Regions from separate parts of the Homo sapiens genome. Here region 1 is linked to region 2. The links are contacts of gene promoters, found by promoter capture Hi-C in blood cells and fetal thymus (Javierre and others, 2016). All regions are on one chromosome and are shown on one strand. The core of a region is centred on a gene start or on the middle of the fragment in contact, and the rest is flanking DNA. Distances in the headings are between cores, read along the strand shown.

Region 1 (4,354 bases), core at 1,437-3,936, 3.3 Mb after region 2:
TTTGTTTGTTTGTTTGTTTGTTTGAGGCAGAGTCTCACTCTGTCGCCCAGGATGGAGTGCAGTGGCGTGATCTCGGCTCACTGCAAGCTCCACCTTCTGAGTTCATGCCATTCTACTGCCTCAGCCTCCCGAGTAGCTGGGACTACAGGCGCCCACCATCACACCCGGCTTATTTTTTGTATTTTTAGTAGAGACGGGGTTTCACCGCGTTAGCCAAGATGGTCTCGATCTCCTGATCTCGTGATTCACCCGCCTCAGCCTCCCAAAGTGCTGGGATTACAGGCGTGAGCCACTGCGCCCGGTCTATGCATAACTTTTTTGTCACCAGGCAATGAAGCTACCTAAGGTTGGTTGACTACGGCCTTCCTTTCTCAATCAAATCATCTTAGAGTGAAGGAGAATGAGAGGATGGGTAAAGCTAGGGGAGTCCATTTCTCTATAGATAAACCTTAGTACCATAAGTAATTCCACCTCGCACAGCCTAACCTTTACGAAACTGCGTTACTGCCTCAGACATGGACGCTAATAGTACTTTTTAAGCTTCACTTCCTACTTAGTGTTTTCTTCCCCAAATCCTAAAGAACAGGACTTGTCTGTATGAAGAATAACAAGATTAAGAAAATTTACACATACTTCGATGAAAAGGGCATCCTTTGAAATGGAGAGGTTTCCCAGTCGTGTGTCCAATGCCTTTTTCTCCTGTACACAGTGCACGAAAATTTTCCGCAGTTTTGGGTACGATATCTGCAAACAATTCTAAGACAATTCGACCAACTAAAAGAAAAGAAAATCTTGTCAGTATGCAAAACAACCAAATAGACAAATGATAAAAAGAAGGTTGGTATAATTATGGTAGCAGATCAATCATGAATTACCAAGTTCCCCTTTACTGTAATTTTTCTTTTTTGCAATTTCAAGAACACAACACATTGCTACTAACTATAGTCATTATGTTATACAATAGATCTCTTAAATTTATTCCCCCTTTCTAACTGAAATTAGGTCTCTCGTGATCAACATCTACCCAACCCCTGAAATCCACCATTCCATTCTCTACTTCAAGGTCAACTTTTTAGAAACCACATGTAAGTGAGATCATGCCTTGTCTTCCTGTGCCCAGCTTATTTCATGTAACATAATGTCCTCCATATTAATTCATGTTGTCAGAAGTGACAAGATTTCATTATTTTTTATGGGTGAATAGTACTCCACTGTGCACATATATCAAATTTTAAAAAAAATCCATCTGTAGATGGAAACCTAGTTTGATTCCATTATCTTGGCTATCATGAATAATGCTGCAATGAACATGGGAGTGCAGATACCTCTTTGACATACAAACTTCATTTCCTTTGAATATACTCACTAGAATTAGTGAATCTTATTTTATTCTAATATTCAAATTTAGTCTACCTACTGTCATGTATGTATATAAACAGATTTGAAACATTACACTAAGGATCATAACCAATTATAGTAGCCAAAAGATTAGCACCATGTAAGAGATATCATTAAATACAAATAGTTTTAAATCCTGAGTAATTTCTTCAAGAGGTACTGAGAATTTCCAATCACCAAGCAACCAACGGGAGAAAATTAAACAGTCTTTGGGTGGGCGGACTTGCCACGTGTTACGTATACCTGCAGCCTTTGTGCTCTGAGCAAACTGCCTCATGCAACCTCTGAAGCAAAAGCTGTAAAAATTCCTCCTCTAGATAGCAGCTAAGACAGGTGAGATTAAACCTAGCCCTAGCTAGTTGCAACAAACTGAATGTACGTGTAAACGTGTGTGTGTCCTGTACATGCATTCAAACACATTGCCTGGCCAGCAATTCCAACGTGTTCCAGAACAAGGCCAATCCAGTTACAAAGCAACACGCTCCCTAATTCACCAGGCCTTAGGAACTTCTGAGCGGCTATGTAACCTAGGCAACACCATCACTACGTTGAGCGCATTTTCCCAATGGCAAATTAAGAGAAAATGTTTGCTCATCTGAACGGACCTCTAAATTAAGAATCAGTAATAAGGCAAAAGCAATGAGCAAACAAGTCCCTTTAACGTATAAATAACACAGCACGTGCTGATATATTATCTCATGTGGCAAATATAGTTTCCTGGGGCCCAGCAGACGCATATCCCAGGATATGCTTTCCGAACTGTCCCATTGCAAACATAAAATATTTCATGCTAACTTGGTAGTGCAAAGGTGGCGTGGAAGTGCCACCAAATCAGGAGGCAAACCTAAAGGACGCCACAATTCCCGAACTAGAAATTTCCAGAAACTTCCGCACCACCGATGGCATTGATACAAGGGCGCTGGATCGATCTAGCCCTAGATCTCCGGGCCTGCTCCGGCGGACCAGCCTAGGCAGCCATCCCCTCCGCGAAACTGAGCAGTCACCGGCCGGAGCCGCATTCCGCCCTTGGAATCCCCCAAATCCCGGGAACCCCCGCCTCCTCGGGGCTTTTCCGCGAGCGTCAGACTCCGCTCACCTCGCTCCCCTCCGATGTCCACGTCAAAGAAGACTCGAGGGTTACTGGGGTTGGAGGGCTTGGCTTGGGGGGACGGGTGCGACATCTTGACTTGCAGACGTGTTTAGTACGGAATATCAGAGTACCTAGTGGCCGCCCGGGCCGCCCAAACTCCAGAGTCCGTCTCCGCCGGAGACCGGCAGCGACGCTGACCGGCCACTTCCGACGCAAGAACCGGAAGCCATGGCCTGACTTCCGGCACCGCCCCGCTCCCCCGCGCGGTGTTTCAAAGAGCCTGAGCGACTCCGTGCAGCGAACCGCGTGCCCTCCGCCACCTGTTCCTGGCTTCTCATTTAATGAAGTTGCGATCCCAGTTCTCATTATTCTTCTCGCTTGTGTTTCGTTGTCTTTCCCACCCTCGTGGCGTAGAGAGCTTTGGAGTCAACCCCATGCCAGCGTCAGCTCTGCCACCAAGTTGGGTGTGACTTCTCAGAAACTCAGTTTGCTCCTCTGGAAAAAGAATAAAAACGCTGACCTCGGAAGGTCGTTTTGAGGATTAAAGACATGAATCAGTACAATGCCTGGCATAAACTGGTGGTACCCAACCAATAGGAGCCTTATTATTGCCATGTCGTTACAATTTGATCTTCACATTACAATGTAAGTGGTAAGGCTTAGACTAAACGCTCCAAACAGCTAAAGCTGAGAGTCCAGAAGAGAGCACAGTTTTGATTCCTGATAAAACTGTATTTGGCGGGGCGCGGTGGCTCACGCCTGTAGTCCCAGCACATTGGGAGGCCGAGGCGGGCGGATCATTTGAGGTCAGGAGTTCGAGACCAGCCTGACCAACATGATGAAACCCGTCTCTACTAAAAATAAAAAAAAAAAAAATCACCCGGGCGTGGTGGTGCTTGCCTGTAGTCCCAGCTACTCGGGAGGCTGAGGCAGGAGAATCGCTTGAACCCGGGAGGCGGCGGTTGCAGTGAACCGAGATCGCGCCACTGTACTCCAGACTGGGTGACAGAGCGAAACTGTCCCCCCCCCCCCCAAAAAAAAGAAAAACAAAAAAATACTGTATTACTATAGCCCACTTTTCCCTTATGGGGATCTGTGTAAAACATTTACTTTTTACACACACACACACACACACACACACACACACACACACACATATATATGAGGAGAACATAGCCTTGCCTCTTAATAAAGCCTAATTTTGGAGAAGAGTGGCAATTCCCTGTGTAGATGCTTTGCCCTGTAGTTCTATTGGAGCTCAGCAATTTGGATTCAGCCTGAGGCTTACTTTATCAATAAGGCAGGAGATATCCTTAGATGCTTCACATTTTTTTTTCTTATGAGAAAGTAAAAAGTATTGGAATCCAGCACTCAAATAATGTCTCAAAAGCCAGGAGCCTTGTGTCAACAGCAGCAGCCAGAGTGGCTTTTTGGAAGGAAAGACCAGTGCTAATTTTCCCCTATCAGAGCTGTCACCATCCCTCTAGATGAAGGCTCCTGCCCTACTTGCTACCCGGTCTTAGGATAAGTAAAAGTTAGAAGGGTTACGGTTAAAGAACAACTGATTCCTATTCTCAATTTGAATTTGCCTGTGATGTTATACACTGGACTAAGCACGAAAGTTGATGTTAAAAAAGAAAAAAAAAAAAGCAAAAGCTTCAAGTTCTGACTACATGTATACTAGGCATGTTACCAAAGAAAAGTCATTTAATTTCTCTGAACCCTTCTCATTTCCTTTTCGGTAAAGTGCCAAAGAACAGGGTATGAGAATGGAAAAAGATAATGTGTAAGCATTTGCCTTGTAATCTCTAAAGCATTCTTATACACTCTTTTTTAAATTACTGAAAATTAGATGCTATAGTGCCT
Region 2 (4,499 bases), core at 1,576-4,075:
ACCAGCCTGGCCGATGTGGTGAAACCCCATCTCTACTAAAAATACAAAAATTAGCCGGGCATGGTGGCGGGCACCTGTAGTCCCAGCTACTCAGGAGGCTGAAGGAGGAGAATCACTTGAACCTGGGAGGTGGAGGTTGCAGTGAGCCGAGATTGCACCACTGCACTCCAGCTTGAGCAACTGAGCGAGACTCCATCTCAAAAACAAAAACAAACAAACAAAAACACCAAGTTTAGAATTCTGTATGCTTATACCTGAAACTAAAATGTTAATATGTTTACATAGCTAAGAGAAACCAAATTATAATAGTACTGATATATGAAACACGAAGAGTCTGTGGTTTTTAAATTTACCCCTTATCACAGCCAAAAAAAATCTGATTTATAGCAAGCTTTATAAAAGCACTTCTAATGTGCACCGAAGTTTAGTTCTGTGGGACTAGTTACTAACTAGCTGTAGCACCTCCTAGGGTTGATCTTAAAGATGAACCTGTCTTCTTCAATGTGGTTTACCACTGGCAGCCATCCTTTTACTGCAAACCTGCCATCAATTAATTTATATTTTCGTATACACATTCAGAAAACAAAACAACAATAAAAAAAGAAAATCATACAACTTCCTGAAAATTAAGAGTGGCTTTCTACTAATTAAAAAGTTGAAAATCTAAAATTAGTGAATGCTTAGGTATTATTTTAACATACGTGATTGAGGGGATGGGTGGTTGGGGGGCTGGCTAAATACAAAACTAAGGAAGCAAAAAGAAGAAAAGTGGTTCACGTTTCCATACTGTCACATACCAATCTCATCACTGTCAAAGTCATCTGAGTATTCAGAACTCCTTTGTCTGGCTGAGCGAGCTGTAATTGCTCTTATTAGCTCATCCTGAAATGAGATACTGAAATCAATTTCCATCCAAACATGGAGGTATCATATTCACAAGTAATTCTTTAAACAAACAATGCTTGATTAACGACTGCTTTCAAACTTAGGTTTCATTCATCTAACAAATATTTCCTGCAAGCTCACTTTATGCCATGTACCCACTTTACGCCTCATACTCAATGCAGAGCATCACAGACAAGAGCCCTTCCTCATGGAGCTCGCAGTTTAACTAGAGGAGACACACATTATGGAACAAATTAATTGCAGGTTATAATTAGAGCTGGAGGGTAACAAATAAGAAGGGGCTCAATTTAGATTATAATTTATTAAAAACTGGTATTTTGAAAGAAATTGGTATTTTTAAGAGCTTTTGTCTCGGCATATTTCAGAAATGGATGCAATCAATATTGCAAACTTAGAGGCTGAGTTCAAAATTGCAGTGACTCAACAGAAAAAAAAACTTAAACATTATGTTACAACAGAAAAAAAAGTTTTTATATAAAAATGGCAATTTAAGGTTGCGATTCAACTTTTAACTTAGTAGGAAACTAGTATTGAGGCTACTTTGGTAGTCTTAAAACCATATAGGGGAGTTTGTAATACTGGATGGAGCCCAAACATGATCATGTGCAAAACCTCAAAAGTAATATAAGATTTACCCCTGCTTTATATAGGACTGTTCTAGAATCACCAATTTCAACCCATCTAATACAGTGTTTACACTGTGAAATGATTCCAAATAAAAATACTTTACCTGGAAAGTAGTTCTTTTGGTAACTTTTGGACTCTTTGTATATGCCAAAGTGGTGCTAAAAACTTCATCAGACATAGTGTATTTTTTCTCGTTACCTTTATAAAATAGCTAATTATTAGAATTCAACTTCTGATAGTAGCTGAAATATACAAAACAAATCAGACTTCGCATGCTTCAGAATTTATTTTATTACATTTGATTCTACTCTCCCCACAAAGGTCAAAGAAAAGCATCTGATATGAACATTGGGCTACATCTTCACTTAAAAAGGTTCTTGTAAAGAAATAGCAAATTCTCATAACAAGCTTGTTTAAAAAAATTCAAATGGAAGTTATCCTAAAATAGTTTTGCAACTACTTAAAAAGTCTGCAAATAAATGATTACAAGTTAATACGACAAAATGCTGCCAATTAAAATAGAACACCTTATTTTTCACCTCTCTTCTAAAGTATAACATTGCCTTCAAAATAAGTCACGTCTTATTTAAAAGGCCATCAAAAGGATCGTCGGCGTAAAAATTATGAGCACCACCACCAAAAAAAAAATGTATCTATATATTTGCATACAGCGCTATTCAAAGAAAAAGATCGTAATGCTAACCCGCAAACAGCCAGCGAGATGTATTGCAAGCCAATTTTTCCTCTCACAAAAGTGTTAAAGAGAGCCAGACAAAACGACGAAGCTTTCGCGATGAGCCGCATTAAAATCGCGGTTTCCCGTACTCGGAGCAGAGGCCTGGCAGGGCCGCCCATAGCGTTGTGCGCCCCGGGTTCCGTTCCCTACCAGGCCAGGTGACGTCCGGGTGCTCGCCGCTCCTCACCGCGCCGTATGCTGAGCACCAGCGAACGCCAGGCCCGTGCACGTCCAAGCGCGGTCTCTGTCCGGATCCCCCATGGCCCCCAGGTCCCGCTTTCTGTTCCCGGCCCCGGACGCCCGCGGCCAGTTCTCCGCGACCCTGAGAATCAAGAGCCAAGCATCGGGTAGGAGCTGCTCACCTTGGTCTGGGCCTGGCGGCGCCCGCAGAGCCGGTCCTGGACCGAGCGAGGAGGAGGGGCTAATAACAGAGGCGGAGGGCGGTTGCTAGGAAACAGCGTCTTCGGGAGGAAGTGACTTCCCCACCGCCGGGTCTCTCGGGTACCCAACACCGCTCTTCGGCCCAACGTGTCGCTGGGGCAACCACCCAGACGAAGGAAGTGACATCACCTTCCTGGGTCTTTGGAGAGGGGCTCATTATTGGTCGCTTGTGTGCATGTGCTGTTGCCTAGGAGACAGGACCCGCCCAACTCCCACCCAGATAGCCTTACTCTTGCCAATAGAGTAAGGGTCCTTATCTGCACGTGTTGCAAATAAAGCACATTCGTCGTTTTGCCACAGTTAGGACGTGAAGTTCTCTGAATCGAAGTACGGTGTCAGTGGATGGGACAGAATAGTACGGTAGTGAGTTTGCAGAACCCTGTTTCCGACTGCAGGTTTGAATCCTGGTACCCCTTTCCTACACACGTGATTGTCCCAAGTTAAGGTCTTTATGACTCAGTTTCTTCTTCTGGGGGAAAACAAAAGTGTACTAATAATAGACACCTGAAAGGTTGCTGTAAAATTGAATGAAATAATACAAGTGGAACACTTGGAAGAGTGCCTGGAATTGTATTCGATATTAGATATGCTCTTCATGCAACTAAGCCGCAAAGGGCCTGGAGAGACCTCAGCTCTTGTGGACACAACTGAAAGCCCATTTGACATCTTACTTGAATGTAAAACTCCCCCTCTTTGTATACTTAGTGAGTAATCTTATTCCAATCAAACCAAACAAAATGATCCACTAGGCTAAAAGAGCATGTGCTACTAAAGTAAACAAAATCAACATCATTTAATTCGCATAGGAAATTCTTAAAGCAAATAAAAACCAAAAACGTTTATTGAAAGTCTTTAAAATAATATGAATTTTTACTATTTTTAATTTTTAAAAAGCTTAATCCTAGTTGAATTATCTGAATGAATTCATTGACTAGTAATTAAACTCATACCTGGTATTTTTTCCACATCTCTAAAATATGTTAATATTTCACTAATTCAATTTTGTATAAACAAATCACATTGAGATAGAAATTTAATAAATCAATGTATTGAAAAACTAAATGTGCATAACAAGAAATAAGAAATTTAGTAAAATACAATGCTGTATTAATCAGGGTTCTCTAGATGGACAGAACTAATAGTATATATATATTATATTATATATATTATATAATATATTATATATATAATATATATTATATAATATATTATATATATATGTCCACTCATCTGTATCCATTTATGAAGCTGAAAATGTACACCACCTCTACACACACATACCCAGAATAGAAAATGCTCCCTATTTTCTATTAACTCATGGCACTACTGTTGAACCCTTCCAGGTTCACCTCATGCTCCTGGAACCTCCTTTCCACTGTAAAACATTCTCTCACTTTTTCCTCTATAATCGCATTCTTATCTTAGCTAAGCAAAACTATTTTCTGAATAAACTATCTCCCTGAGGGCTTTTCAAATAGGGACTGCTGTAGAAGGAAGATTTCTAAGTTCTCCTAGGTCCTCACATACTCAGTGACTGCTCTCCTATTACTCCAAACCCTTCCTCCTCACAAGCCAATATTCTATGTTCTATTTCTCAGTTTCTGTCATCAATAGATATATAGGCCCTTCTCCCACATTCACTGAATATCTACAGCCAACCTATCCAATACCTGAGATCACACCAAGGTATGGTGTGGCCATGTTCCATTCAATAGAATTCTTTGCTCAATACTCCAAGACTTTCACTTGTCCATACCCCTAATTGTGGGGCTCCGTACTGGAAGTCTTA

Evidence for each region. The method cuts DNA at HindIII sites, captures the fragments that hold promoters and counts their contacts. A CHiCAGO score of 5 or more calls a contact.
Region 1: a contact is called between the fragment with the promoter of PPID here and the fragment with the promoter of MAP9 in region 2, in 5 of 17 cell types (non-activated CD4 T cells, total B cells, total CD8 T cells and 2 more). The highest score is 10.1, in non-activated CD4 T cells.

The regions. Positions count from the first base shown.
Region 1 is chr4:158,720,710-158,725,063 of GRCh38, forward strand. It overlaps PPID (peptidylprolyl isomerase D), which reads right to left and starts at 2,687. Exons shown (of 10, transcript NM_005038.3): 1 at 2,495-2,687; 2 at 634-774. The coding sequence starts at 2,579. RefSeq lists enhancers at 2,097-2,680, 2,314-2,793, 2,681-3,265. The HindIII fragment of the contact is 3,604 bases long and covers 539-4,142 here.
Region 2 is chr4:155,374,140-155,378,638 of GRCh38, forward strand. It overlaps MAP9 (microtubule associated protein 9), which reads right to left and starts at 2,826. Exons shown (of 14, transcript NM_001039580.2): 1 at 2,632-2,826; 2 at 1,637-1,775; 3 at 798-882. The coding sequence starts at 1,711. RefSeq lists an enhancer at 2,279-2,708. The HindIII fragment of the contact is 1,286 bases long and covers 2,317-3,602 here.